2 separate regions of the Homo sapiens genome follow, and region 1 is linked to region 2. The links are contacts of gene promoters, found by promoter capture Hi-C in blood cells and fetal thymus (Javierre and others, 2016). All regions are on one chromosome and are shown on one strand. Each heading gives the region's core, a stretch centred on a gene start or on the middle of the fragment in contact. The rest is flanking DNA. Distances are from core to core; before and after follow the strand shown.

Region 1 (5,957 bases), core at 850-3,349, 590 kb before region 2:
CTTCTGCACAGCAAACAACAGAGTGAAGAGACAACCTAGGGAACTGGAAAAAAAACTGCAAACCATACAACATCTGATAAGGAGTTAATACTCAAAATGTGTAAGGAACTCAAACAACTCAATAGCAAGAAAACAAATACCAGATTTTAAAAAAATGGCAAAGAAACGGAATGGAAGCTTCTCAGAAGGAGACATACAAATGGCTAACAGGTATATGAAAAAGTGCACAACATCACTAATCACCAGAAAAATGCAAATTCAAACCACAATGGGATATCGGCTCATACCTGTTAGAATGGCTATTATCAAAAAGACAAAAGCTAAGTGTTGGTGAGGAGGTGGACAAAAGGGAACCCTTGTACAGTGCTGATGGGAAACTTAGTACAGTCATTATGGAGAACGGTACGGAAGTTCCTCAAAAAACTAGAAATAGAACCACCACAGGATCCAGCAGTCTCACTTCAGGGCATATACCCAAAGTCACTATAGTGAGGAGACACATGCAGGCCCGTGTTGATTGTGGCACAACTCACAACAGCCTAGATATGGTGGAATCAGCCTAAGTGTTCATAGAGAGACGAACGGATAAAGAAAATGTCACACACAGACATACACACAGAAAGAAGCCATGTCATCTGTGTCACTGCGGATGAACCTGGAGGACATTATAACAAGTAAAATGAACTGGGCACAGAAAGACAAATACTGCATGATCTCACATGTGGAATCTAAAAAAGTGCATCTCACAGAAGCAGAGGGTGGGAGGTGGCTGTCGGGGACTGCGGGGGGTTGGGGGAAATGGGAGCTGTTGGTCACTGGCACAAGTTCAGTTAGACGGGAGTCAAACAGGCTGGGGAGCTGCTGTGTGGCACAGTGACTATGGGTAAGAACAATGTATACTTGAAAATTGCTGAGAGTGATTTTAAATTCTTTATAGAGATGGGGTCTCTCTATGTTGCCTAGGCTGTTGCCTGAGGTAGGCAGGTCACTGGAGTCTAGGAGTTCAAGACCAGCCTGGGCAAAATAGACCCCATCTCTACAAAATGTTGAAAAAATTAGTTGGGTGTGGTGGAGTGCACCTGTGGTCTCAACTCCTGGGAGACAGGTGGGAGGATCACTCGAACCTCACCACAAACAAAGGTATGTGAGGTGATGGATATGTTAATTAGCTTGATTTAATAATTTCACACACAAAAAACATGAACACATAGAATTCAGCAATATACCACAAGAATTACATGCTATAACCATTCTTCCTGTGATGCAAGGCTGGCTCAGAGTTGGAAAATCTGTCTGTGTAATCTACCTTATTAACAGACTAAAGAAAGCACACAATCATATCAATGCATGCAGAAAAGCCTGTCACAAAACTCCATACCAACTCACGATAAAAATTAAAATGCTCAGAAAAAAACAGGAATAGAGGGGAACTCGCTCAGCTTGATGAAGGCCAGCCAGGAAAGCAGCCACAGCTGTGGCCCGCAGCTGGCCCAGGCATGTCCACTCAGGAGCACTTGGCTGGGCATGAGCTGCCTGACGCTGCCAGTGAGCTTCTAAGCTTGGACTCACCCCGTGCTGAAGCCCCTGGGTACCTTCCCACTGCTGTGCTGTTTAACCCCGGCCCTGAGCCTCCCGTCCAGAGCCCAGCACCTACCCCCTTGGTCTTGTTTGTCACTGCTCCCTGCCCTCCCGCTGGCTCCCTGGCTTCCGTGGCAGGGACAGGGTGAGTTCTCCCACCCACTTATCAGGACCTTCTTCTGGAGGGTATTGCCTACCAGGCTGTACCTACAACCCCGTCTCTCCTGGCCCTGCTGCAGTCACCTGGGGCCACCCTGGCACCGAGAGGGCAGAGGGCACACGTGTCTCCTCCGTTCACCACTGAATCCCCAGTTCCCAGCACCACTCTTGGCCCACAAGGGGGCGCAGTATGTATTTAAGGATTAGACAGATTCACACCATGAGCACTGAGCCCAGCTCAATTTCCACGGCCTCGTGGAACGTTCTGAAATTCAGCGATTTCTAAACTCAATACTCAGAAGCACCGTAATCCTATTTTCTCCCACACCACCCACTCCTGCGTTTTTCATTCAGACAGTCACTGAGGGTTTGCTGGGGGTCTGCTGTGGGGGTCCCTGTGGCCCACAGAGGCGGCACAGGGCTGGGTTTGGGCCATGGCAGAAGAAGTTGTGTGGGGTCAGGACCGCGGCGCCCCAGGCGCTCCCCTCCCCTCCGAGGCCCAGGGCCAGCAGGGTAGAGCTTTCCAGGAGGGCAACTGGGGAACCAGGCAACAGTCCTGCTTTCGAAGGCTGGCCGTGACTTGCAAATCCACCAGCTCCCAGAAGAGGCCAGAGGAAAACCACTCACGACAGGAACGTCTTGTCAATAAAAAGGATGCAGAGAAAAATGCCACGAAACCAGGATGGACTCTCACGCCACACAACAAACGCAGACAGCAGAGAACTGCCACCGTTTTGCAAGCTCTTGAAACCCATGATTGTTTCTGTCCTTCCTTTATTTGAACTACTCCAATGTGAAGAGGCTTAGTTCTGTTTTTAATTTCATTGGGTTTGGGTCTTGATTATTTACTCCCTTCTGCTTGTTTTGTTTTCTTTTTTTAAAGTTTCTTCAAGTGGAAGCTTACATTATTGTTTGAAGACCTTTCTTCTTTTCTAATGGATGCTGTCATGCTATAAATTTCTCTAGAGGCACTGATTTACTAGTATCCTATAGGTTTTTTTTCATTTTCTCTTACTTCAAAGTATTTTCTAATTTTTTTATACTTCCTCTTTGACTAGGGCATTATTTAGAGGTGTGTGTTTTGATTTTCAAGTATTTGGAAAATTTCCAGTTATCTCTGGTTATTGATTTATAGTTTAATTCTACTGTGGCCAGAAAATACATTTTATATGATTTAAATTATTTTAAATTTGTTAGGCTTTAGTTTTTTACATGGAATATGACCTGCCTTGGGGAACATCCCATGTGCACATAAAAACCACGTGTACTGTGGTGTCTGCATTGTCTGCAGGTCTCGGAAGCTCCATTCATTTCTCCCAGTCCTTTTTCTATCACTCGGCATGGATCATTTGTACTGAGCTGTCCTCGTGTTTGCTGACGCTGTGCCCTGTCACTTCCATTGTTATTGAGTCTACATCATGAATTTTTCATTCTGGTTATTAGATTTTTTAGTTCTAAAATTTCCATTTTATTCTTTAAATCTATTTCCTTGGCCAGGCGCAGTGGCTAACGCTTGTAAACCCGGTACTTTGGGAGGCTGAGGTAGGCAGATCGCTTGAGTGTAGGAGTTTAGGACCAGCCCGGGCAACACAGAGAGACCTCATCTCTACGAAAAATTTTAAAAATTAGCCAGGTGTGGTGGCTGCACCTGTGGTTGCAGCTGCTGGGAGGCTGAGATGGGAGGATCGCTTGAGCCTGGGAGATGGAGGCTGCAGTGAGCTGAGATTGCACCACTGCACTCCAGCCTGGGTGACAGAGTGAGACCCTGTCTCACTCAAACAAACAAACAAACAAAACCTTCGCTTTCCCTGCGTAGAGTTCCTATTTTTCCATTCATTTTGAGAGGGCTCACCCTTCCTCCTGGAGCACGGTGGCGCAGCTGCTCTGAAGATCTTGTGGATCCTCCACCAGGAAGGATCCCAGGTTGGTGTGTGTTGCTCATTTCCCAGCTGGAGAGGCTGAGGGTTCCTATTTCTTCCTATGCTGAGTACGGACGTCGAGTTGTCCTCTGGTCTGTTTGAATATTGTCGTAACACTCCAGTTATCACTTAAATCTTATGCAGAACCACGACATTTTTATTTTATCGGGCAGTGGTTCTAGTTAGTTCCAAAGCCTCTGTGGGCTGTGGCTCCAATGTCTGTTCTGTTCTGAGAGCTTCTGCACCGCTGTTTAGCTCTGTGCCACGTGTGTGCCACCCAGTGCCCGGCTGGGACCTGGGGGCCATCAACCCTGCAGTCCCCTTGTCAAAGCCTTTGCTGTACTGTCTGTGGTCAGACCCAGACGTAGAGAGGGCAGGCAGTGCCCAGGAATGCACACACAACTTCATGAAATCCCCTTTTCAAACTCGCCCCTCTCTGTGATCTCCAGGGCTTTCTGACCAGGGCCTGGCTTTTGCCACAGTGCCAGAAACTTACTGCACTTGCATCCTGTCTAAGGCCAAGAGGCAGAAGGGCAGAGACACGAAACAGCCCCGGGAGGACCCCCCCACCCCGGAGGGCAGGGATGGGAAATGGCCCTGGGAGGGCCCCTTCATTCTCTGAGACCACAGGTCCTCTGGTGGGAGAGAAAAGTTCTGCCCCTGTGCGTTGCCAGCCTGTCAGGCTGCTGTGCCCTCAAAGCCACTGCTGCCACAGGATCGCCTGGGGGTGAGGATGGGAGAGACTGGAAGGTGGAGCAAATGCCAACCAGCAGGAGCTCCCTCTCCATCCTCAGACAGAAATGCGGAGCTTCTCTGTGGCTGCACTTCTGGGTATGTGGCTGCCTGGAGTCCAGGCCATGTGGCAAGGGCAGTGAGGACACAGGAAGCTCCCTGCTGGGCTGGACTCCTTTCCAGCCTGCTCCCACTGCCGCCTCCCGGTCCCAAGGGAGCTGCTCCAGCACTCTGTGCAGAAGTCCCAGCTGTGCTCAGTGGGAGGGGCAGGGGGGTGTACCCCCACTCCATTTGACCAGAATCAAAGCCTCATTTAATTTTTTTTTTTTAAGACGGAGTTTCACTCCTGTTGCCCAGGTTGGAGTACAGCAGCTCACTGCAACCTCCACCTCCCAGGTTCAAGCAATTCCTCCGCCTCAGCCTCCTGAGTGGCTGGGACTACAGGCGTGCCACCATCACACCCGGCTAATTTTTTGTATTTTTAGTAGAGATGGGGTTTCATCACGTTGGCCAGGCGGGTCTCAAACTCCTGACCTCAGGTGATTTGGCTGCTTCGGCCTCCCAAAGTGTTGGGATTACAGGCGTGAGCCATTGCACCTGGCCATTTCATCTTTATATTGATTAAATTGGCAAAATCTGTTTAAAACTGGTACCACTATAAATTCTGATAAATTTGCCAGTTACTCTTTTTTTAAAAAAATATTCAAATCAACAGAATGCTAGTAAAATGAATACTGCCCTAGTAAGAAGTGATGTGTAATGAAACAGCGGCCACACAGGGCCACAGCCCCATGTTTTTCCATATATAAATCCAGGCTGTCCTAACACAGTAGGGCGAGCTCTTCCTCCGTTTTACACGAGGTGACACAGTGCGATGACCCTGAACTGTGACCAGCTGGCTCCAGGCCTAGGTTCCCGACCACCAGAGAGGTAATCCATCATCTATTTTCATGCCAAAAATAACAGTGAATGACATCCCGTCAGACCCGAAAGGAAGAGACCCACGTTTGAAAGTGTCATGTGAGGCCCAAGTTGTAAGGCTTGTTTGCTGGGGGATGGATGAATAGGTTTGGATATTAACATAGAGATGCCTTGGAGTGTAGAAGGGCGGTCACACAGCTGTGAGTGCGGCTGGCAGCAGGCGCCTTGAGCTCTCTCCTGTGTGCCACTGCTTGCCCCGAGAAGGCGGGAGAAGCCTTGCCAGCAAAGCGCCATCTGGGGTCCTCGCAGCCGCAGCGAGCGCTGTCGCAGCCAGCGGCTCTGGCCATACCCCCGTTAGCTGTGCTCTGTCCAGGGCTGCACTCACGGCCTCAGCTGTCTGGGGGATGTGACTGTGGGAGGGAACACAGTGCGGGGTGGGTGGCAGCAGCCCCTACTTGATTTATCCTGTTTAACAGCTCAGTGCCTGCATCAGGCTGCACGAGGCCAGGACGGCGGAAATGACAGGGCAGATTAGCTGCCACATTCTCCTTGAGAGCCTCACATGCACTTCATGTCCCTGAGGCTACCCAGGGCAGGGGAGGCTTCTGGAATTTCATGCTCCTGCCTGTCACAGGCGGCATTCGGAGG
Region 2 (5,442 bases), core at 248-2,747:
AATGCACACCTCACATGTACTGACTGATGTCTTATGTCTCCCTGAAATGAATAAAACCAAGCAGTAAAACAACCGCCTTGGGCCAAGTTCTCAGGACGTCCTGAGGCTGTGTCATGGGTCATATTTGGCTCAGAATAAATCTCTTCAAGTATTTTACAAAGTTTGGCTTTTTTTGTAAACAATAGGCAGATATAAATTCCATTTGCTAATTTTTTTAAATGCTGTGTCTTGGTTCATGAAAGACATTGGTCTGTGGTTCTACTGTCTGGTGATGTCTGACTTTGCTATCAAGGCAATGCTGGCCCATACATCGAGCAGGGAAGTGCCCCTCCTCGTCCATCGTCTGAGTGGCTGGATTCCTATTATTTCTTCTCTAAGTAGGATTCACCAGCTTGGCCCTCTGGGCCTGGAATTTTCTGTGTGAGAAAATTTGATAACAAATTGATCTCAAATTTAACAGATAATAAGCATTAGTATTTTCTTTTTTGGTAACTGGCATCCTTCAAGAAATTCGTCCAATTATACCGTTTTGGGGGCTGCCTGCACTAGAGTCAGCGTGGCGTCCCCTCAGAAGGCCGGGTTTGCCAGCGCCGCGCCCCAAGCCAGGTCGGTCGGCCAGTGCTGGTGCCCTCGGGGAACAGCGGGAGCTGCCTGGAGGCTGCGGGGAGCGGCGGCGGCGGGCACGCACCTGGCTCCCGAAACCAGACCTTTAATAACGCCTCGCAGAAGGGGCGGGGTGGGAGGTTGGCAGCGCAGGGGCGGCAGCCCCGGATCCCCCCAGGTCTCCAGATCACCCCATCGAGCCCCGCGCCCTAGCAGCACAGTCCCTCCAGGGCTCCTTGGAGGGCCAGGCCTCAGCCCGGGTGCCCCCTCGCCGGGGCTCCAGGGTTGGGGGCACCCAGGAGGCCGCAGGTGTGGAGCTCGACGGCGCCCCCCGACTAGAAACCCAGGCTCTCATGCGCGGCTCCCGCCCCGACCCCAGCTCCAGAGGGGCGAGAGCACCCGGCGCCGACCCCGTCTACGGACCCCCTCCTCCGCCCCGCCCCCGCCGTCCAGCCCTCCCGCCCCTACCAGCCCCGGGCCTCCTCCCCACGGACCCGCCCCGCGCCACCAGCCGTCAGCCCTCCCGGCCCCCAGTCTCGCGTACCCTCCCCACTGGCCTGCAGGGTCCACCGACTTCCCGACCCCGGGACCTCCCGACCCCCGGACCTCCCGGCCTCGCGGACCCTCAGGAGCCCCTGCGTGGGCTGCGCCAGGGCGCCCGCGACAGCACCGCCGCGAACCACAGCCACGGCCTCCGGGTCTGCAATGGAACCTCTAGCCGCTGCGGTCAGGAGGGCGGAGACTCTGCGCACGCGCAGTTCCCCCTCCCGCCCCTGCTTGCCGGTGATGGCGCATAACGCATGCGCGGGGAGGGCGGAGCTGGGCGTTGCCGTGGCTACTGGGAACGCATTTCACGGGGGCGGGGCGTGGTTCCGGGGCGGGGCGCGGCCGCCGGAAGTGCGTGGCCGCCCGGGGCCATGGCGACACTCAGCTTCGTCTTCCTGCTGCTGGGGGCAGTGTCCTGGCCTCCGGCTTCTGCCTCCGGCCAGGAGTTCTGGCCCGGACAATCGGCGGCCGATATTCTGTCGGGGGCGGCTTCCCGCAGACGGTAAACGCGCGTCCACGGTGCCAACGCTGGGGTTCCAGGACCGGGCAGGGTCAGAGGATGGGATGGGGGCGGGGCGGGGTCAGGGGCCAGGGAGATGGGATGGGGTCAGGGGCAGGCCCACGGGATGGAGGGTGGTCCGGGGCCAGGGAGATGGAATGGAGCGGAGTTATGGGGCAGGGGCCAGGGGGATGGGATGGAGCGGGGTCAGGGGGCAGGGGTCAGGGGAATGGGATGGGGTCAGGGTTCTGGGGCAAGGAATGTGGCGGAGTAAGGGGCCAGGGTGATGGTATAGGGGCAGGGGGCAGGGGCCAGGAGGGATGGGATGGGGGCGGGGCAGGGATCAGGGCGATGGGATGGGATGGGGGCGGGGCAGGGGCCAGGGTGATGGGATGGGATGGGGGCGGGGCAGGGGCTAGGGCCAGGAGGGGTGGGATGGGATGGGGGCAGGAACGGGGGCCCGAGGGATGGGATGGGGGCGGGGCGGGAGCCGGGGCCAAGAAGGATGGGACGGGGACGGGACAGGGGCAGGGGCAGGGGCAGGGGCCGGGGCCGGGCTGGAGTCTGGGGGATGGGATGGGGCGGGGGCTGGGGGCAGGGTCGGGCCAGCGGGTTGGCTGTAGTCGAGGCTGCGTCACTGCGGCCCGGGTCTGCAGGCGGGGTCGTCTGCGAGGCCCGGGGCGCAGCCTCGGGAGCCCAGGAAGGGGGCCGGGTTGCTCAGGCTGAGCGTGGGCTGGCTCCGGAGGCCCCTGCAAGTGACACGGGTCCAGGCCTGGGTGTGCGGAGCCGGGAGTCAGTGCCGGGCGGGCGCTCCGCAGTGAATTCTCAGGGCCAAGACGAGCTTCGCGGCCGCCCTGTGGCTGTGGGATCTCCAAGCGGACCCCGGGAGGGGCCTGGACGCAGAGGTGTGCACGGCCCCTCGTGGCGTTCGCAGGCCTGGGCGCTGCACGCAGCTTCACTCGCGACGATGGGAGTATGGAAAACCAGCGCAGAGCAGGGAAAGGAGAGCGCCAGGGACAGGGTTTCTGTAGCCCTTGGGGACTTGTCTGTGCCTTGGGGACTTGTCTGTGCCTTGGGGCGCTTTGTGTCCTTCCTCTAGGGCAGTGATCTTAAAGTGTGTCCTGGATCTCTGAGCTTTTGTAGCCGTTTTAATAGTAGTACCAGAGTATTATACGCCTTTTTCACTTCTCATGAATGCACTGTGGAGTTTTCCTAGAAACCACTTGATCTGTGATGTCACAACAGATTGAATGCAGAAACGGGTATGGGAATCCAGCTGTCACCAAACCCAAAAGAGATTTGCAAAAATTAAGAACATCATCACAGTTCTTCTAATTCATTTTTTAAAATACACTTATTTTTTATTTAAATATGTGGTTTTTGTTAACATGTAATGGCTTCTTATTTTTAGCTGAATTAAATACTTGTAGCTTTAACGTCTAACATAGGACGTATCAATAGACATAGTGCACATAACCAGCCGTCAGTCATTGTTTCCAGTGTAAAGGGGTCTTTAAACCAAACAGTTTGAGAACCATGTGGGTACTGATTCTTGGGTTCCAGTCACTGGGATTCCTCTGCCTTAGTGTTGAACTATTGCTAATTGTTAAAACGATGTTAGCATGTCTGCTGCTTCTGCTTACAGGCTCCGTAAGTAACTGGTCATAGAGAAACAGGCCACTCACTGCCTTCACAAACTAGGAACCATTGTTAAGTGCCTAGAGTCGGGCCACGCGCTGAGACTTGTGAGCAGTCGGGTTTTCCGTGCAGAAACCTCAGCATTTGAGACCTGTGGTCCTCCTTCTCCCTGCTCAGGTATCTTCTGTATGACGTCAACCCCCCGGAAGGCTTCAACCTGCGCAGGGATGTCTATATCCGAATCGCCTCTCTCCTGAAGACTCTGCTGAAGACGGAGGAGTGGGTGCTTGTCCTGCCTCCATGGGGCCGCCTCTATCACTGGCAGAGTCCTGACATCCACCAGGTCCGGATTCCCTGGTCTGAGTTTTTTGATCTTCCAAGTCTCAATAAAAACATCCCCGTCATCGAGTATGAGCAGTTCATCGCAGGTGAGGCCGAGCGGCACGCTGGGAGGCCGTGGTTGCTTAACTGGGGCCAGGCAGTCATTTCTAAGGTAGACATCAGGTTGGGCTTACGATTGCATCCAGCCTCACCAGCATCCTCCAGTGCCCAGTGCTGCTGCCTGAGGCCTGTGGCAGCACCTCCTCCGTTCAGGAGCACAGTCCCTTTCCCACGCTGCAGTGAGCTTCCCAAAATGTTTCTCGGAAATGGACCTGAAGTGGATGAGCTTTGTGCCCCCTCAGTTAGAGCCGCCCTTACACCCTAAGAAAGCGGCCACCCCTGGGTGTTATAGTGACAGGACTCGGCTCCCTGTGCGAAAGGCTGTTTTACGTTCAGGAAGACGCACTGCGTGTGGAGTATGCTTCGTGGTGTCTCAGTGCAGCGCCAGGGATAAAGGTCTGTCTCGTTTAATTTTGTGTTGCTTAATCTTTTCAGTTAATTTTAAGAGAAGAATTAAAGCTCTTCTTAGAATGAAGGTATTTAGAGCTTTTTGTGTTGCGTTGTTTGGAAGAGATAAAGGTAAGTGATGCTTTGCTGCTGCACTTGAGAGGCCTTGAAGACGAATGAGTTAGTTTTGAGTCAGGCTCCTGCTTTCCAGCATCTGTTGAGTTCTTACTCGACAGCCACTCTCGGGGCTTAGAGACCTTTGCTCCCTGCCAAGGAGTGTGGCTCCCGTGTCATCATTTTTCAAGGATGTGGTTCTCGTTGCACCCTAGATCTTGTCACTCTGAAATGTTTTCTGTGTCAAGGTCAGTCTTGTGAGTGCTAGGGGCATGCAACAACAGGCGGTAACCTCCAACATCCTTGTTGATACCAAGTCAGAAAGTCTGCTGCTTGTAAAAAGCATTCCTGGAGTGCGTCCTTTCCTGAGTTGACTTTAAAATTTGCTTGTGAGTCCTGGAAGATGAAAGCTGTGGTTGGGTATTGGGTCTAACTAGCAGCCAGCCCTCGGTCTGAACATTGGGTTATAGGAACCCAGAGATGCTATCCTTACCTCCCTTTGGTACCAGTGGGTTTCCTGACAGGGAAGCGGACAGGTCTGGGCCTTGGGCATCCAAGTGCTTGGGAAGGTCTGGGAAGACAGATGCTGTGTAATGAGCTTCTGAGGCACATATGCTGGTCTCACGCTTACCTGCCATCCACCAGCCTGGGGCTTTGCTGAGCTGTTTCCTCGCCTGTGAGGTGGGGAAGGAACTGGGTGCCTGTCCTAGGGCGAGGCTGCCAAGAGACTGCACACGGTGAGCTCCTGATGTGGCTGACATAGCGCCCAGCGTGCAGGATCTTCACCACCTCCCACTAGCCTAAAAGAAGCCCCCGCAGCTGTGGCCTCAGGCCCTTAGGCCACGCAGCCCTTAGCCCCCAGTCATGAGTGAGCAAAAAGGATACCAGAACTTCACCTTCGCGATGCTCCCTCCCGCTTTGTTCCTGCCCCAGAACTTCACCTGCGCGATGCTCCCTCCCGCTTTGTTCCTGCCCCAGAATTTCACCTGCGCGGTGCTCCCTCCCGCTTTGTTCCTGCCCCAGAACTTCACCTGCGCGGTGCTCCCTCCCGCTTTATTCCTGCTGCCTTTGAGCAGATCTTAATTGCTGACCTCTTGGGCGTCACAGTGCCACCTTCTTGGTGCGGGTCGGGCCGTGGGTAAGAGGCACGACTCCTGCTCACCTGAGCCTCTGTCCCCGGGGGAGGCAGGACACCAGTGCAGTAGATGGTGGCC

The links. Contacts are between HindIII fragments. The CHiCAGO score rates a contact against its expected background, and 5 or more counts as called.
Region 1: a contact is called between a fragment that was not itself captured here and the fragment with the promoter of POFUT2 in region 2, in 1 of 17 cell types (M2 macrophages). The highest score is 6.0, in M2 macrophages.

Annotation. Positions count from the first base shown.
Region 1 is chr21:45,876,556-45,882,512 of GRCh38, reverse strand. All of the region lies in intron 5 of PCBP3 (poly(rC) binding protein 3), which reads right to left. Among named protein-coding and RNA genes, the nearest start is that of PCBP3-AS1, 43 kb to the right of the region's middle. RefSeq lists an enhancer at 1,134-1,938. The HindIII fragment of the contact is 1,078 bases long and covers 1,561-2,638 here.
Region 2 is chr21:45,283,950-45,289,391 of GRCh38, reverse strand. It overlaps POFUT2 (protein O-fucosyltransferase 2), which reads left to right and starts at 1,497. Exons shown (of 9, transcript NM_133635.6): 1 at 1,497-1,651; 2 at 3,464-3,714. The coding sequence starts at 1,521. It overlaps LINC00205 (long intergenic non-protein coding RNA 205), which reads right to left and starts at 1,340. Exons shown (of 3, transcript NR_026943.1): 1 at 1,148-1,340; 2 at 1-41. RefSeq lists an enhancer at 156-886 and a silencer at 1,041-1,570. The HindIII fragment of the contact is 9,019 bases long and covers 1-5,442 here.